Regions from separate parts of the Homo sapiens genome. Here region 2 is linked to region 1. The links are contacts of gene promoters, found by promoter capture Hi-C in human tissues and cell types (Jung and others, 2019). All regions are on one chromosome and are shown on one strand. Each heading gives the region's core, a stretch centred on a gene start or on the middle of the fragment in contact. The rest is flanking DNA. Distances are from core to core; before and after follow the strand shown.

The links. Contacts are between HindIII fragments. The study calls those that stand out against the background at their distance.
Region 2: a contact is called between a fragment that was not itself captured here and the fragment with the promoter of SLC6A7 in region 1, in 1 of the 25 tissues and cell types used here (mesenchymal stem cells).

The regions. Positions count from the first base shown.
Region 1 is chr5:150,184,779-150,191,421 of GRCh38, reverse strand. It overlaps SLC6A7 (solute carrier family 6 member 7), which reads right to left and starts at 1,360. Exons shown (of 14, transcript NM_014228.5): 1 at 1,062-1,360. The coding sequence starts at 1,094. RefSeq lists an enhancer at 4,592-5,532. The HindIII fragment of the contact is 16,922 bases long and covers 1-6,643 here.
Region 2 is chr5:150,136,878-150,143,920 of GRCh38, reverse strand. PDGFRB (platelet derived growth factor receptor beta) reads left to right here. Exons shown (of 23, transcript NM_002609.4): 2 at 6,868-6,913. The coding sequence starts at 6,874. Among named protein-coding and RNA genes, the nearest start is that of PDGFRB, 15 kb to the left of the region's middle. RefSeq lists enhancers at 5,820-6,331, 6,842-7,043. The HindIII fragment of the contact is 5,542 bases long and covers 1-5,078 here.

The DNA.
Region 1 (6,643 bases), core at 111-2,610:
AGACACACCACAGTGGTTCCAAGCCCAGCTGCCCCAGAGCAGAGAACTTGAATGAATGAGTGTGTGTGTGAGTGAGTGTGAGTGTGAATGTGTGTGTATGTAGGGAGGTTGATAACACCAGCCCCTGAGAACAGTCTTCTCACATCTACCAGCCCTTTAGCATTCTTCCCCACACCTCACACACCCAGTGGGGCCTGTTTTGGTGCCTCCAGGCTAGGGCTTAGCCAGAGGAGGTTCAGGTTAGAGAATGAACTTGTCCAAAGTCACCAGGCAAGTGGCAGCGGCAGAAATAGTATTCAGGAGATCTGACTCCTTAGTTAGGACTGGTACAAGCCAGAAAACGTCCCCCAGTATTCCCCCTCCCCATATCCTGACAGCTTGGCTGAGAGGTCCAATCCCACAAGGCAAGGTAGGGAGAGCCTGAGGTCTGGGCCCACAGCCACTCTCCCATACCAGCTTCCATCTTCATTGATCATATCCTCCTGCCTCCGATAGCCCCCTCCCTGTCTTTGCCTCCCTTCAGCCCTGCTGAGGGGCAGCCTGGGGTCTCAGCAGGCAAGCTAAGGGGGCGGGGAGGGAGCAGGCAGGAAAGAGGAGAGTCTTCCCGCAGGCTCAGGGAGCCGGCTTCAGTATGGATGACCGCCTCCCACTCCCCACCCCTCAGATGAGTCCAGCTCAACGCTCAGGTATTCCAATACCCCCCACACCCGGCAATCAGCTCCTGGCGGGGAGCAGCAGGGTGGAATTGGGGAAGAGGTGGGTGCCTGGCCCCGGCCGCCCCTACCCCGCGCCTCCGGGGACTGCAGACACCTGTTCATAGGCCTGGCCCAGTGAACCAGGACTCCCCTCATACTACATCCCGAACCCCAGATGGCAGGGGCAGAGGTGGGGGCGCAGACCGTGACCCTGACCCTCCCTGTTATCCAGCTGAGTCGGGCCTTCCCCAGAGCCCGAAGCTGGTCTGGGTGCATCCTCAGACCTTCCCCAGGGGCCTCGTTGGGGGCGGGTCTCTCCAACCCTCCTCCAGGTGCACCCCCAGCGCCCCCGCCCTCGTGCCCTACCTTGCGGAGGTGAGCTCCCTGGAGCTTCTTCATCTTGGAGAGCGGGTGGCCGGGGCTCAGCTGCCCCGGAGCGCAGAGAGCGAGGGCACGAGAGATGGTCCGCTGGCCACTGCGCCTTTGCCCCCGCGGCTCCCGCGCACCGGCTGGGGCGGGCACGGACGCAGGCGCTGCCGTCTGGCGGCTGCGGGCGTGGAGCGCGGGCAGGGCGCTGCGAATGCCTTGTCTGTCCCTGCGCAGCGCCCGAGGCTGGGGAAGGGTGCACTGCTGCGCCCGCATAGACACCCAGACAGACAGCTGACGGACGGACGGCGGGGGGATGCGCGCGCCCCCGCACGCAGAGCTGCGGATTGGAGAGCCCTGAGCGAGTGGGGAGGGGGGTTCGCGACGGAAACCCTCGGCTTTCTGCGTGACCTTGGGCAAGCGACCTGCCCTCTCTGGGACTCCCTTTCCACAGTTGGGCAAGGAACACTAACAGCCCACCCCCCTGCGTCGTCTTTGCTGTGCGACCTTAGGGGATAAGAATCTCTCCTCTCTTACAGGAGTGTGAGCAATTCAGGAAGATGGAGCATAGAAAACATCTAGCACAAAGAGCCTGACACATAGTAGGTGCTCAGTTAACATTTATTCACTGACTGTGGGTTGCCCACGCCACCATTAGTCCAATTATTCAATCTATCAGTATTTATTGAGCACCTAAAATGTGCCAGGTCCTGAACTAGGTGTCCTATTTTCTCAACCTGGAGAGACAGGTGTCGTTACTCCTATTCTACAGATGAGGAAGCTGAGGGACAGGGAAGTTAAGTTACTTACTCAAAGTCACGGGGCTAATGAGTGACACCAGGGACAGAGTCAGGCTTCATGGACCTTTAGGCTAGTAGAGTCTTCAACTCTCCTCCTTTCCTTAAGATGAAAGCAAAATGGGGAGGTTTGGGTGAGCAGAAGGGACAGGCAAGTGCCACAGTGTCACTGTGATCTGTGACTTAGATGATTAGTAACTGGTTTCCTGTCCAGCAGCAGTATGGCTTCTGGAAAGTTCTAATTTCATATCTGTAAAATGGGCCACGAGCCGCCCATGCATTGTTGCCTCAGAATGTTCTGAGGGTCCAGTGAGCCTGTGGCTAGGATGGGAAATGATGAGCTGGAGCAATGGCACACGTTGGTTTGCTGGGACTGACTGATAGACACTAGCGGATCAGTATATACATTACAAATTGTGTCCTTTTCACCCTCGCAAGTGTCCCAGTTTAGACATTAACCATACATCTGTTTGGCTCACTATCAGTTGACACGGTGGGAGGCCTTTGGGGAGAGATGAGAATAAGGTTCTGCTCTCTCCCACCTCTGGAGCTTGAAAAAAGGTTGGAGGGGTTTAAGTCAAAGCATGGACTTGGGTAAAGGCCTGGCCAGGCTCCAGTCCACCCCTTCCCCTGCCCAGGTCCTGTCAAACTTCTCTCCCCTTTGAGCCTGGCCACAAAGGGCAAACCAGGGGCTCTCCAGACCCAGGAGGAAGGTGTCTCCTCTGCCCCCTGCCTGCTGACCCATATGGGGCCAAGAGTGGCTGTGAGTGTGAAGAGAAGGAGCATTTATGGAGCCCTACTGTGTGCATTATGAAGGATTTTTGCATCCAACATCTAATTTTTAATTCTTTCCAACTGTCTGGGAAGACATGTTTGTGCATCTCATTTTACACCTGTGGAAACTGTCCCAGAGGAGTGAAGTCATGCACTGGGCGTTGGGGATGAAGCCAGGAAAGCTGTGGGTCATGGCTGGGAAAGGCAGAAGCCAAGGGCTCCTGAATCCAAGGAGGCCCAGGCAGGAAACTTCCCCATCCCTCACCCAAGGCTTGTCAATGCATCTTGTACAAAAGAGGCTCAACCTTGCTCAACCACTCCCTCCCATTGGCACTTGGGTTTCATGAGACCCTTTGGAAGGCACAGAGGGCCACAGGGACAGCGAGCAGGGATGAGGCAGTTGGCTCAGGAGCCAAGAAGACTGGCCTCTTTATGACCCTTCCTAGCAGCACCTGCTCCTCCCACTTCACGGACCCAGCCCTGGGGGAGAAGAAGGGAGTGGACCAGGGCTTTAGCTTCCCTTGAGCAGACACATCAGGGGGTGACCACTGAGCCACTGTGGCAGTCACTGGGACTGTGAGGTGCAAATGGATCTAGGCCCATGCCTTTCAGATAGGGAAACTGAGACCCAGAGGGGCAGGATTTGCAAAATCACTCAGTGATTCAGTAAAGACAGGATCATGTCTATAACCTAGGAGTCTGACCTCACCCAGGCTCTGCCCTCTAGCTCATACCTCTCTGCCACCATCACCTCCATCCCCACAGCCCTGGTGGGGAAAGTCTGCCCTTTCATAAAACAAACAAAACTCAAAGATTTTCTTTTCTTTATTTTTTTGAGAGAGATCTTGCTCTATTACCCAGGTTGATGTGCAGTGGCTCCATCTCGGCTCACCACAACCTTCGCTTCCTGAACTCAAGCTACCCTCCCACCTCAGCCTCCCAAGCAACTGGGACTACAGGTGTGTGCCACCATGACTGGCTAATTTTTGTATTTTTTTGTAGAGACAGGGTCTTGCTATATTACCCAGGCTGATCTTGAACTCTTGAGATCAAGGGATCTTTCTGCCTCTGCCTCCCAAAGTGCTGGGATTACAGGCATGAGCCACTGTGCCCAGCCAAAACTCCAAGATTTTCTAAAAGACATTATCCACATAAATCAATCTACCCACTGAAGCTCCAATTTTATGATCATACAACTGGCCAGGAGTCTGGCAACCAAGCACATTTGACAATTGCTGTCACCACCATCTCCTCTCCCCCATTCCAGAGGGGGTTTGATTCATGGCAAAATGACTGCTTAGGAATCCAAATGGTAAATATTCACTCTCCCTTTCCCCCTTCTCTCCCTGTTGTGGTCTCATATCAAACCAGAAGTGCAATGGAGATGTGTGTGTGTGATTTAAGGAAAGTGTCAGATGAACTGTACTTCCTTTTATTATATAGGGAGATATTTTTAAATGTATATAAATAAACATTTTTAATTTGCTTAAATATTCAGATTTTATCACTGTAGAGCATGTGTTTTGTCACACTAGGGAGTGACGACTGTAAAAAACAAGGTTCCAGGCTGCTAGTCCATCTGGAGTGGTTCAGAGGAAGTGATCCCAGAGCTGCCTGGTTGGAACGGGATTGCCCTCCAAAGCTGCCCTGGCGGAGGCTGGCTGTGCTCCCCAGCTCTGCATCCCTCTGGCAGATCATCTCAAACACTCAGAGCCGGGCTGATTTCCTCAGAGCTCCACAGTCCTCCTGTTCTAACCCTTGTACCCCTATCACAGCCCATTACACACACACAGACACACACACACACACACACACACACCCTTGACTGCTGGAGCCCTCCTCAGAACACTCCATTCCCCACCAAGTCCCTCCCTAGAGTAGTGCTGCAACTGTTCTGCTCGGTCCACACCAATCTCTCGGCAATCAATGATGGGATTGGCTTTTCCATAAGACAGGTTCTCAGCCCAGGGTTAGGAGTCTATGGACTCCCTGAAATTGTATGTAAACAGTGTTGACATGCACAATTCTGATTTGCTAGAAGACGTAAGCAGTCTGTGGGCCTTGGAGGGCCAGCACAAAGTCACTGTACGCAAAGCAGCATGGGCCATTCCTGATACGAGAGCTGAACACCTCTTACCCCTGGGGTGGCTGTAAGATTTGACTAGACTTGAAGGGTCTCTTTCCTAAGCCATTACAACACCCCAATCTCTGGTGGAACTCTGGGTGACAGGGAACTCACCAGGCACAAGGCAGGAAGTTGCACTGCTTGGAAGTTGTCTTAGATGAGTTTCCTTTTTCATGGGGCTAAACACCCATTGGTAGGTGAGCACCAACCCAACCTGTGGGTCGCATCCAACCTCCTGACCTCCCATGTGGGCAACTGCTGCAGCTCACCCTTTGATGTGGTAATGCGCCGCTGTGACTCTATCAGAGGAGTGGCCACTGACCTCCTGCCGGGCAGAGGTCTTCCTAATGCGGAGACAGGCTTGTCCTCCTTCAGGTGGGTAGAACATCAGCCACGCCTGCCAGCCTCTCACACTGGGATGCAGCAGCAGCCCCGTGAGCAGGTGGCTCAAAAACAGGCACTTCTTATGTGCTGGGCCCTGAGCGAAACACAATTCTAAGCTCAGTTAGACTATTTTATTTCCATTTGACACATGCGGAGGCCGAGGCTCCAAGAAGCTAAGTAACTTGCCTGAAGTCTTGCAGTTTGGAAGTAGTCACGCTGAAATCCAGGCCATTTGACGACAAAACCTGCTGCTAAATACTGAGACACAGAGAAGGTGAGGCCCTCCAGCCTGAACATCCCAGCACTGCAGAGTGTGTGGAGTTCAGTGGGATGCTCGGAGGTGTGAGTAGGGGCCTCCTAGGTAGCAAAGCACGGGGAAGGCCAGATGAAAGAAAATTCAAGGGGTTTCTTTGCTGTGGGGCTTGTCAGAGACTTTGATGTGCTAATGGCCCACTGTGACTCTATCAGAGAAGTGGCTTCAGCAGGATTTCCCAAACTTACTTGACCAGAGTTATTTCTTTCTGGTAGACAACTTCCCCAAGTTTACAGATGGGGCAATGCGGGCCCAAAGAGGGGAAGCAGTTACCCTAGGGTCACAGAGCATATTTTTTTGAAGATCAGAAAACTCTATTCAGTCCGGGCCAGCCGCCTTTTCACCAGCCCCTCCCCCTCTACTCTTGGAACCCTGGTTCTTTCCCAAGCCTCAGGTGTCCACCATTACTAATGAATGCCCGCTGTCTCCCAGGCCACTGGTAGGAGGAGAGAGAGAAGTGCCTGCTGCACTTCAGGGGCCTGTGCCAGGCCAGGATCCACCTTGTGCACTGTTATCATGGGAGCAAAGGGCGATGTCAGGCAGGCTGTGCACACTTTTTATGGCCTGGCCACCTCCCAGAACAGTAAACAGAGGGGCAGGCAGCTGGCACCAGAGCCCCCGGGGAGAGAAGGCCCCGGGTAGTAGACTCCCGAGTTCAAAAAAAATTATACTTTCAGTCCATATTGCTCAAGTTCCTTTTCTCCTTTATTCCCTTCTTGGCCTGATCCATACTCGCTAGTCCTTTTCAGTCTCAGTTCAAACATTACCTACTCCAGGAAGCCTTCCAGGATAAGCTAGGCATGTGCTCTGCTCTCGTTGGATGCCCTGGCTCCCCTGACGCTCAGATTGGCCCTTATCCTGTTATATTAGTGTCATCTGTGTGCATAGCAGTCTTCCCCACTGGACTGGGGACTTCTGCAGAGCAATTCAGGACCCCTGAAGTCAGACCCTGAGGGGGGCTTTGTGGCTTCTCTCCTGCTCCAGCTGCCCAGACCACATGGACTCTGAATGCATTCTCCCCCTCTAGATCTTGCTCTCCTACCCTGGAGATGCCCTTCTCTGTAACCTTCCCCCTCCACATCTTCCCAAGACATGATCTCGCACCCCTTCTCCAGTCTAGGGGACAAGGACTGTGTGCTTCCCAGGCCCAGCCACGCGTAGCACATGGGGTGAGCAATGAATGTCATTA
Region 2 (7,043 bases), core at 1,058-3,557, 48 kb after region 1:
GCGCCGGGCTGCTCTCTTTCTGTAGCCCTTAGAGTGATCCCGAGGCTGGTGGGGAGGTTCGTGGTGCAGGGGTGGAGCACTGAGCCTTCTCCAACAACTGGAAGTGGAGCGAGCATAGGATTGAAGGGGGCGGGTGGGAGCCTCGGCCACTTCCCCAGTTTCTCCCCTCCACCTGTAACTGTCTCCTCACCCTCCGATCCTGCTCTCTTCTCTGGCTCCCAGGATGGGGCTCCCTGATCACATGACCCAATCACACCCACATCTCAGCCTGCTTGGGGACAGCCACATGGACCAGACTTGCCGCCAGGCCCAGGCTGTGCTGCTATCCCTTTCCTACTCTTTAGCTGCTGGCGGGAGGACTTCATCCCTGGCTCCAGATGCCTCTTGCCCCCACAGACTCCCAGGCCTGGAACTGGCAGCCTTCTCTGAGCTGAGTCATGACATGGGTCCCTCCCCAGCACCCCCACCCCGAGCCCAGCATTCCAGCTCAGCACAGCTGCCTTCCCAGAGTGGAGCCCTGAGGGCCACAGCATGTCAGCCCTGAAAGTGCTCCCAAGACACTCTTGCCCACCCTTTTGCACAGATAAGGAAACTGAGGCTCAGAGAGGGTCAGGACTGTACAGTAGTCACCCTTAGCTGCAGTTTCACTTTCTGAAGTTTCAGTTACCCCAGATCAACTGTGGTCCAAAAACATTAAATGGAAAATTCCAGAAATAAACAACTTACAAGCTTTAAATTTTGTGCTGTTCTGAGTAGTGTGATGAAATCTTGCACTGTCCTGTCTGTCCCGCCCAGGAGTGAATCATCCCTTTGTCCATATACGCTACCCACCTGTTAGTCATCAACAAAGTCCACTACTGACATCCAGCCATCAACACCATCATGGCTCGGTGGTCCAGGATCACTTGGAGCAGATGACCTGATCCTTCTGATAATGTCTGGAGGTCAGTAGTAGCCTAACGCTACTTCACAATTCTTACGCCATCACCTCACTTCCTCTTATCACGTAGGCACCGTGTCATTCCACGTCTTCACAAGAAGAGTGAACGATACAGTAAGATATTTTAAGAGAGAGAACACAGTCACATGACTTTTATTACAGTATATTTTTATCATTGTTCTATTTTATTATTATTGTTGTTCATCTCTTACTGTGCCTTATTTATAAATAAAACTTTATAATAGGTATGTATTTGCAGGGAAAAGAACATAGTATGTATGGGGTTTGGTTTTATCCAAAGTTTCAGGCATCTACTGGGGCCTTGGAATGTATTCCCTGCAGATAGGGGGGACCACTATCCTATAAGTGGGTGTCACAGCCGGGACTAGAGCCAGGTCTTCTTACTTCCCACCCCAACCCCCCTCCAAAGTCTGTCCCAGGCCTGTAAAGTGCCCCGGTACGGAGAACAGAAGACTGGACTGGGTCAGGAGACTGGAGTCTGTGGCTCACTTCTCCCAACAACTTAGCAAATTACCTCCTCTGAGTCTCAGTCGCCAATCCCTGCCTGGCTGGGCTCGTGCAGAGAATGTGACTTTGAAACAAAGGTCAATGTGTGGCAGGACAGAGGTGTGCTGTGGAGAGGGCAGGGGCAGCTATAGCCTGAAGCCTGGGGCCTTGAGCCACCAGCCTCACATCTTAGCAGGGGCTGGAGGCGGGGAGCTGCGCAGCCAGGTGAGCTTCAGCCCCACCGATCACCCGAGCCCATCTTGTCTAGGCCAAAACAATGGGCCCTCTTGCTTTCCTTCCCTAAGCCTCAGTTTCCCCACGAGCACAATGGAGCACAGGAAGGCAGTTAGATCAGATAGATGATCCCTGAGGGCTCTGGCGTGCTGACATTCCAAGACTCTGACCCCATAACCCCATGGCCAGGCCTCCTCCTCCCTCAGGCATTTGGTTTATTCAGAGCATCCCAGGCCTGAGACTGCCTGCCCCCAGCACCCCCCTCTCCCTGCAGCATGGCCCTCTCTCTCTCATCTCACTGCTGTTTCTACCCGGCCTGTTCCTGGCCTCCAGACTGAACATCCCACTGTCCCCTCAGTGCCCACAGACCCTCCCTATCCTAAACCTGCTCAGTTGCAGCTCTCACTCCTGCTCTTTGACCTCATTCTCATCTCAGAAAATGGCATCGTCCCCTCAGCACGTGCGCGTGTACACACACACACACATACACTTCTGCCTCCCAGTATTCCAAGCCAGATACAGAGGTGCATACCTCCCTCTCCAGCCCCTCAATATTAAGTCACCCAGTCCTGTTGATTCTCAGCTAAGTAACTCTCAAATCCATCTGTTTTTTTCAGTCCCCACTGCCTTCTCCCCAGACCCAACCAAACATGCACGTTGGTCAGAGAAGCGGTGGAGCTGGTGGCATAGAACACAGAGTCACACCACTTCACTTTAATCTCTGCTCTACCCCTTCTGGCTCTGTGTTCCTAGCCCAGTTATTAAATGCTCTCTGCCTCAGTTTCCCCACTGTAAAATGGAAATGATCACTGTATCTACCTCATAGAGTTGATGGAGAATCAAGTGAGCCAATACGTGCCAAATGCTCAGAATGGTTCCTGGTGCAGTAACACGGGCTTTCTGGCTTGTCTGTTCATGCATATGGCTGTGTGTTCAGGTGAATTTGGGGTTCTATGTGCACATGTTCTGTGCATGTTGTATGTGCTGCATACACATGTGAACTGTTGCACACGGGTGCATCTCCACGGGTGCTGGGCACAGTGGGAGCTGCGCACATGTGTTTTGTGTGGGTGTGTACATGTTTAGTACCTGCATGAGGGCTTGGCACCCACATGGCCTCTTGCATACGTATGTGTTTCAGAGGAGTGTGCGAGGAAGTGCGTAGGCAGGCATCTGTGCATCTGTGCTGTGTGTATGTGCTGACCATGTGCAGGCTCCCCCCATCAACCCCCGCAGCAATGCAGGGCCCCCTCCCTGGCCTGCCTGTGTCGTGGGAGCCTCAGGACCCTGAGGGAGGGAAGCTGTTGCTGGCGGATGTGGCCAAGATGGGCTGGATTTATTTAGATTAAGGCGGTGGGAAAGGAGTGGAGAATTGTACGTGCTGGGAGGAGGGAAGTCTGGGGCTCTGAGAATGACTCCCCAAGCATGCTTGCTCTCCTGGACTTGGGGCACCCACTCCTCTCCCCTGGACTTGGGGTCCTTACTCTGCTCCTTTGACTTGGGGTCCCCACTCTGCTTCCTTTTGACTTGGAGTTCCCAGTCTGCTCCCCTGGACTTGGGGTCCTTACTCCGCTCCCCTAGACTTGGGGCCCCCCACTCCTCTCCCCTGAACTTGGGGTTCCACTCTGTGCCCCGGACTTGGGGTCCTCACTCTGCTCCCCTAAGGGGTCCCTCTGAGTCACGTGAGGAGCTGGGCATGATCTCCACTTTGGGCCTCTGAGCCTACAACCTGGCCAGAATAGGAGGAATCAGGAGGGGTTCCTGGCACATAGCACTCTCTTCATGGGCAAAAGGGGGACACCTAGGGGTGCCCTCCCTCTCTCTGCTCTAGAGGCCTCCCTGGGCAGGAGAGTACAGCAGATAGGGGGAGTGCCTGCTCTCTGACTGTGACATCCAGCTTGTCCTAGGTGGCCCTTCCCTAGAGTACAGTCCTCCTAAAGAGGGGAAGTTGTCACAGGCAAGCCCACTACCACCAAGTCAGCTGCCTGGGCCTCCCTGGGATTGGCTGGAACCAGAACAGCCTCTGGGAAGCACAAAGAGGCCTAACACATTTGGTGGAAAATGTGGGGTATCAGGGAGTCATCCAGGATGGCCTGGGAAGTCATGTCTGGGTGCCCTAAGCCCTTCTCTGCCCTCCCTGGCCCTCCAGCCTCTTGTCCCTACCACTCTTTCCTTGCCACCTCCTGGGGTTCCACGTCACCAGCGGAAAGTCCCCTGAAACACTGTTGAAACACTGTTGTCTAACTTTTTTTTTTTTTTTTGAGACAGAGTCTCACTCTGTCACCAGGCTGGAGTGTAGTGGCGTGATCTCAGCTCACTGCAACCTCCGCCTCCTGGGTTCAAGCGATTCTCCTGCCTCGGCCTCCTGAGTAGCTGGGACTACAGGCACTTGCCACCATGTCCAGCTAATTTTTGTATTTTTAGTAGAGACGGGGTTTCACCATGTTGGCTAGGTTGGTCTCGATCTCTCAACCTCGTGATCCGCCTGGCTCGGCCTCCCAAAGTGCTGGGATTACAGGCATGAGCCACCATGCCCAGCCTTGGTCTAACTCTTAATTGTATAGATGGGGAAACTGAGGCCCAGAGAGGGAAACAACTTGTCAAAGCCCGCACAGCAAGTCTGTGGCTGAATAGTCATGGAAATTCCTTTCGTGGAATGAGATGGCTGGTGGATTCTTATGTGACTCTAGCCTCAGGAATGTAGCCCCCTCCTGCTTACTAGCCCCCACCTCCTCAAAACACCCCGGTAAGATTCGTGGTGACTAGAATCTTCTCTTTGGCCTGTCAGAAAGGCAGAGCTTCACCATAGGGACAGCTCTTTGAGATGACACCTGCCAACCTCTCTATATGGATGGGGACGCAGAGTTCAGAGAGGCTGGAGACTCGCTCAGTCTCACAGTGGGTCCCAGGGTGCTTATGAGGGGAGCTGATTGCTCTATTCATAGTAAAGCCAGTCCGAGATCCCTGGGGTGCCTACAACCTCCCTACGGCATCCACACTGCCTGCCTGTCCTCTCCCCACAGCTTGAATCTGCCTTTTTGCTGTGTGACTGGGGCATGCTTCTGTCCTTCTCTGGGCCTCTGCTGCCCATTCAAAAAGCATACCTCCTAGCTCAGAGTCTCTAAGCCACCCCCAGCCCCAGGCCCAGCAGAAGAGAGCCTGAAGGGGAGAGGATGGAGTGCCACATGGGAGGAGGGTCGGGGGCTGCATGCCATGAAGGCCCAGCCCACATAGCCAGCCCAGCCTTCCAGAGCCAGGCCAGCCCCGCTGCAGTGACCTCCCTTCTCCTGGCCAGCCGGCCAAATTCCTCCTTTAGAATAATAAACAGTGTGGCCAGCCAGGGAGACTGGGAGAGGAGGGGCAGGGAAGCTGAAGTGACCCCCTCCCCCAGCCTCTGCTAATGATTTTCTTTGGCTGAGATCTCTAGCAGGAAGGGGGCAGCCAGAGGGGCACCGACGGAGGGGCAGATGGGCCTCTGTGGGGGCTGCTGGCTCCGCCTTGGCGCTGCTCCCTCCTGACCAAGGAGGCCTGGCATCCAGCTGGAGGGGCTGGGGCAGAGGAATGGTGGGGAGCAGAGGCTGGAGGGGGCGTCAGAAGGGCTGGGCTTTGAGTCAGGAGCAGTTCAGAGAGGGGAGAGGAAGAAACGAGGAGACCTTCAGGCAGGCAGTCTGAAAGGGAGGAGGGAGGAGAAGAGCTGATTTGCTCAGACTGTTTCTTGGGGTGTTGGGAAGAGCTAAGATTGGGGGTCCATAGGCGGGAGGAGCCTTGCCTATGTCCCACCCCTGACATGTGAATGCAGCCCTGGTAGGTGAGGTACTCACCATCATCCACTTCCAGAGCTGGGGACTTAGGCCACAGGGAGAGCGATGGCACAAGAGGTGGCATGCTGGGGCCTGAACCCGGTCTGCAGACCTAAACTGAAAACTAAAAGGGGTGAGATGGGGAGGTAGGGGCAAGCTGGGCATGGCCTTCAGAGGCAGGCCAGGCTGGGCAGCCCCACAGCCAGAGGAGGCTCCTTGTTGCCTCATCATGCCGTCACCTCCCAAAGCTCATGCTCTGCGACCCCTGTCCTCTGGCGTCCTTCCTGCCAATGCTGCAGGCAGACTCTTGGCATACTTGGCTCCTGGTGGTCTCTTGGGACCTGAGGTGTGTCTTCCAAGATAGAGGAGAGCAAGGGCCACCCCATTCAGTCTGTCTCTGTCTTTGTCCTTGCTTCTGTCTCTGTCTTTGTCCTTGCTTCTGTCTCTGTCTTTGTCCTTGCTTCTGTCTCTGTCTTTGTCCTTGCTTCTGTCTCTTAGTGCCTCTGGTGCTGTCTCTCTGGGCACCTCCTCTCTGTCTCTGTGTCTTTGTCTCTTTCTACTTCTATCATTCCAGGTCTCTTTCTCTCTGTCTCCCTCTCAGACAGGCTCTGCTGTGGAATCTTGGGTAAACTTCTCACCTTCTCAGAGCCTCAGTTTCCCCATCTGCACCCTGGGGGTGGGGGTGGGGGGAGCCTGGCTTCACTGGTCTCCAAGGACCTGTGAGGCCTGGCTGCTCGATGGGACCTCTCCTGGGCCCAGCCCCTAGCCGCTGTCCCCTGGGCCTCCCTGTATGCTCTGGGCTGAGTAAAGGTGTCCAGGCCCACCTCCCACATTCCACAGCCCCGGCTCCCCGGCTTCCCTTCCCACAGCCCACAGCCTCCTCCATTTCCTGTTGTGCTTGTGGAGCTGCGGGAGTTCTCTGGGTTCTGGCCTCCCCCCTCCTCCTCCCATCCCTTTCATCACACTTTCCCAAATATTTGTCCTGGCAGATAAGAGCCTGGTATTGGAACTGTCACCCGGAGGACAGGCTGTCAGAGCTGGTAGGCTACTGGATACCATCCAGCCCAACTTCCCCTCCCTCACTGTACAGACAGGGAAACTAAGGCACAGAGAGAGTCTGGGGACGCAGCCGAGGCCACGTGAGAGTCACAAGCAGAGCCAAAGCAAAGGCCAGGACCCCAAGGCTAAGTCCGGGATGGAGAGGAGACAGCCTGTGGTCATGAGTGCCCTTTCAGGCTTGGGACGTGGTGGCTTTTGACTTCAGCCCCTCGGACATGAAGGCTGGGTGGCCCAAGCTGGGGCTCATTCTGCAGGAGCCAGGTGGTGAGATAGCCCCTGTCGCTGCCTCCACCTGCCCTGGGCCCTGACTCCTGTTTAACTCTGCAGGACACCATGCGGCTTCCGGGTGCGATGCCAGCTCTGGCCCTCAAAGGTGGGTAGATGGGAGATAAGGTAGGGGACCCGGGGGGCTGCGGAGTGGAACCCTGGAGCTGGCAGGGGTGATGTGTGCTGGTGGCAGGGCGTGAAGCACCAGGCACACTGCCCTGCCCTTCAGCTTTAGT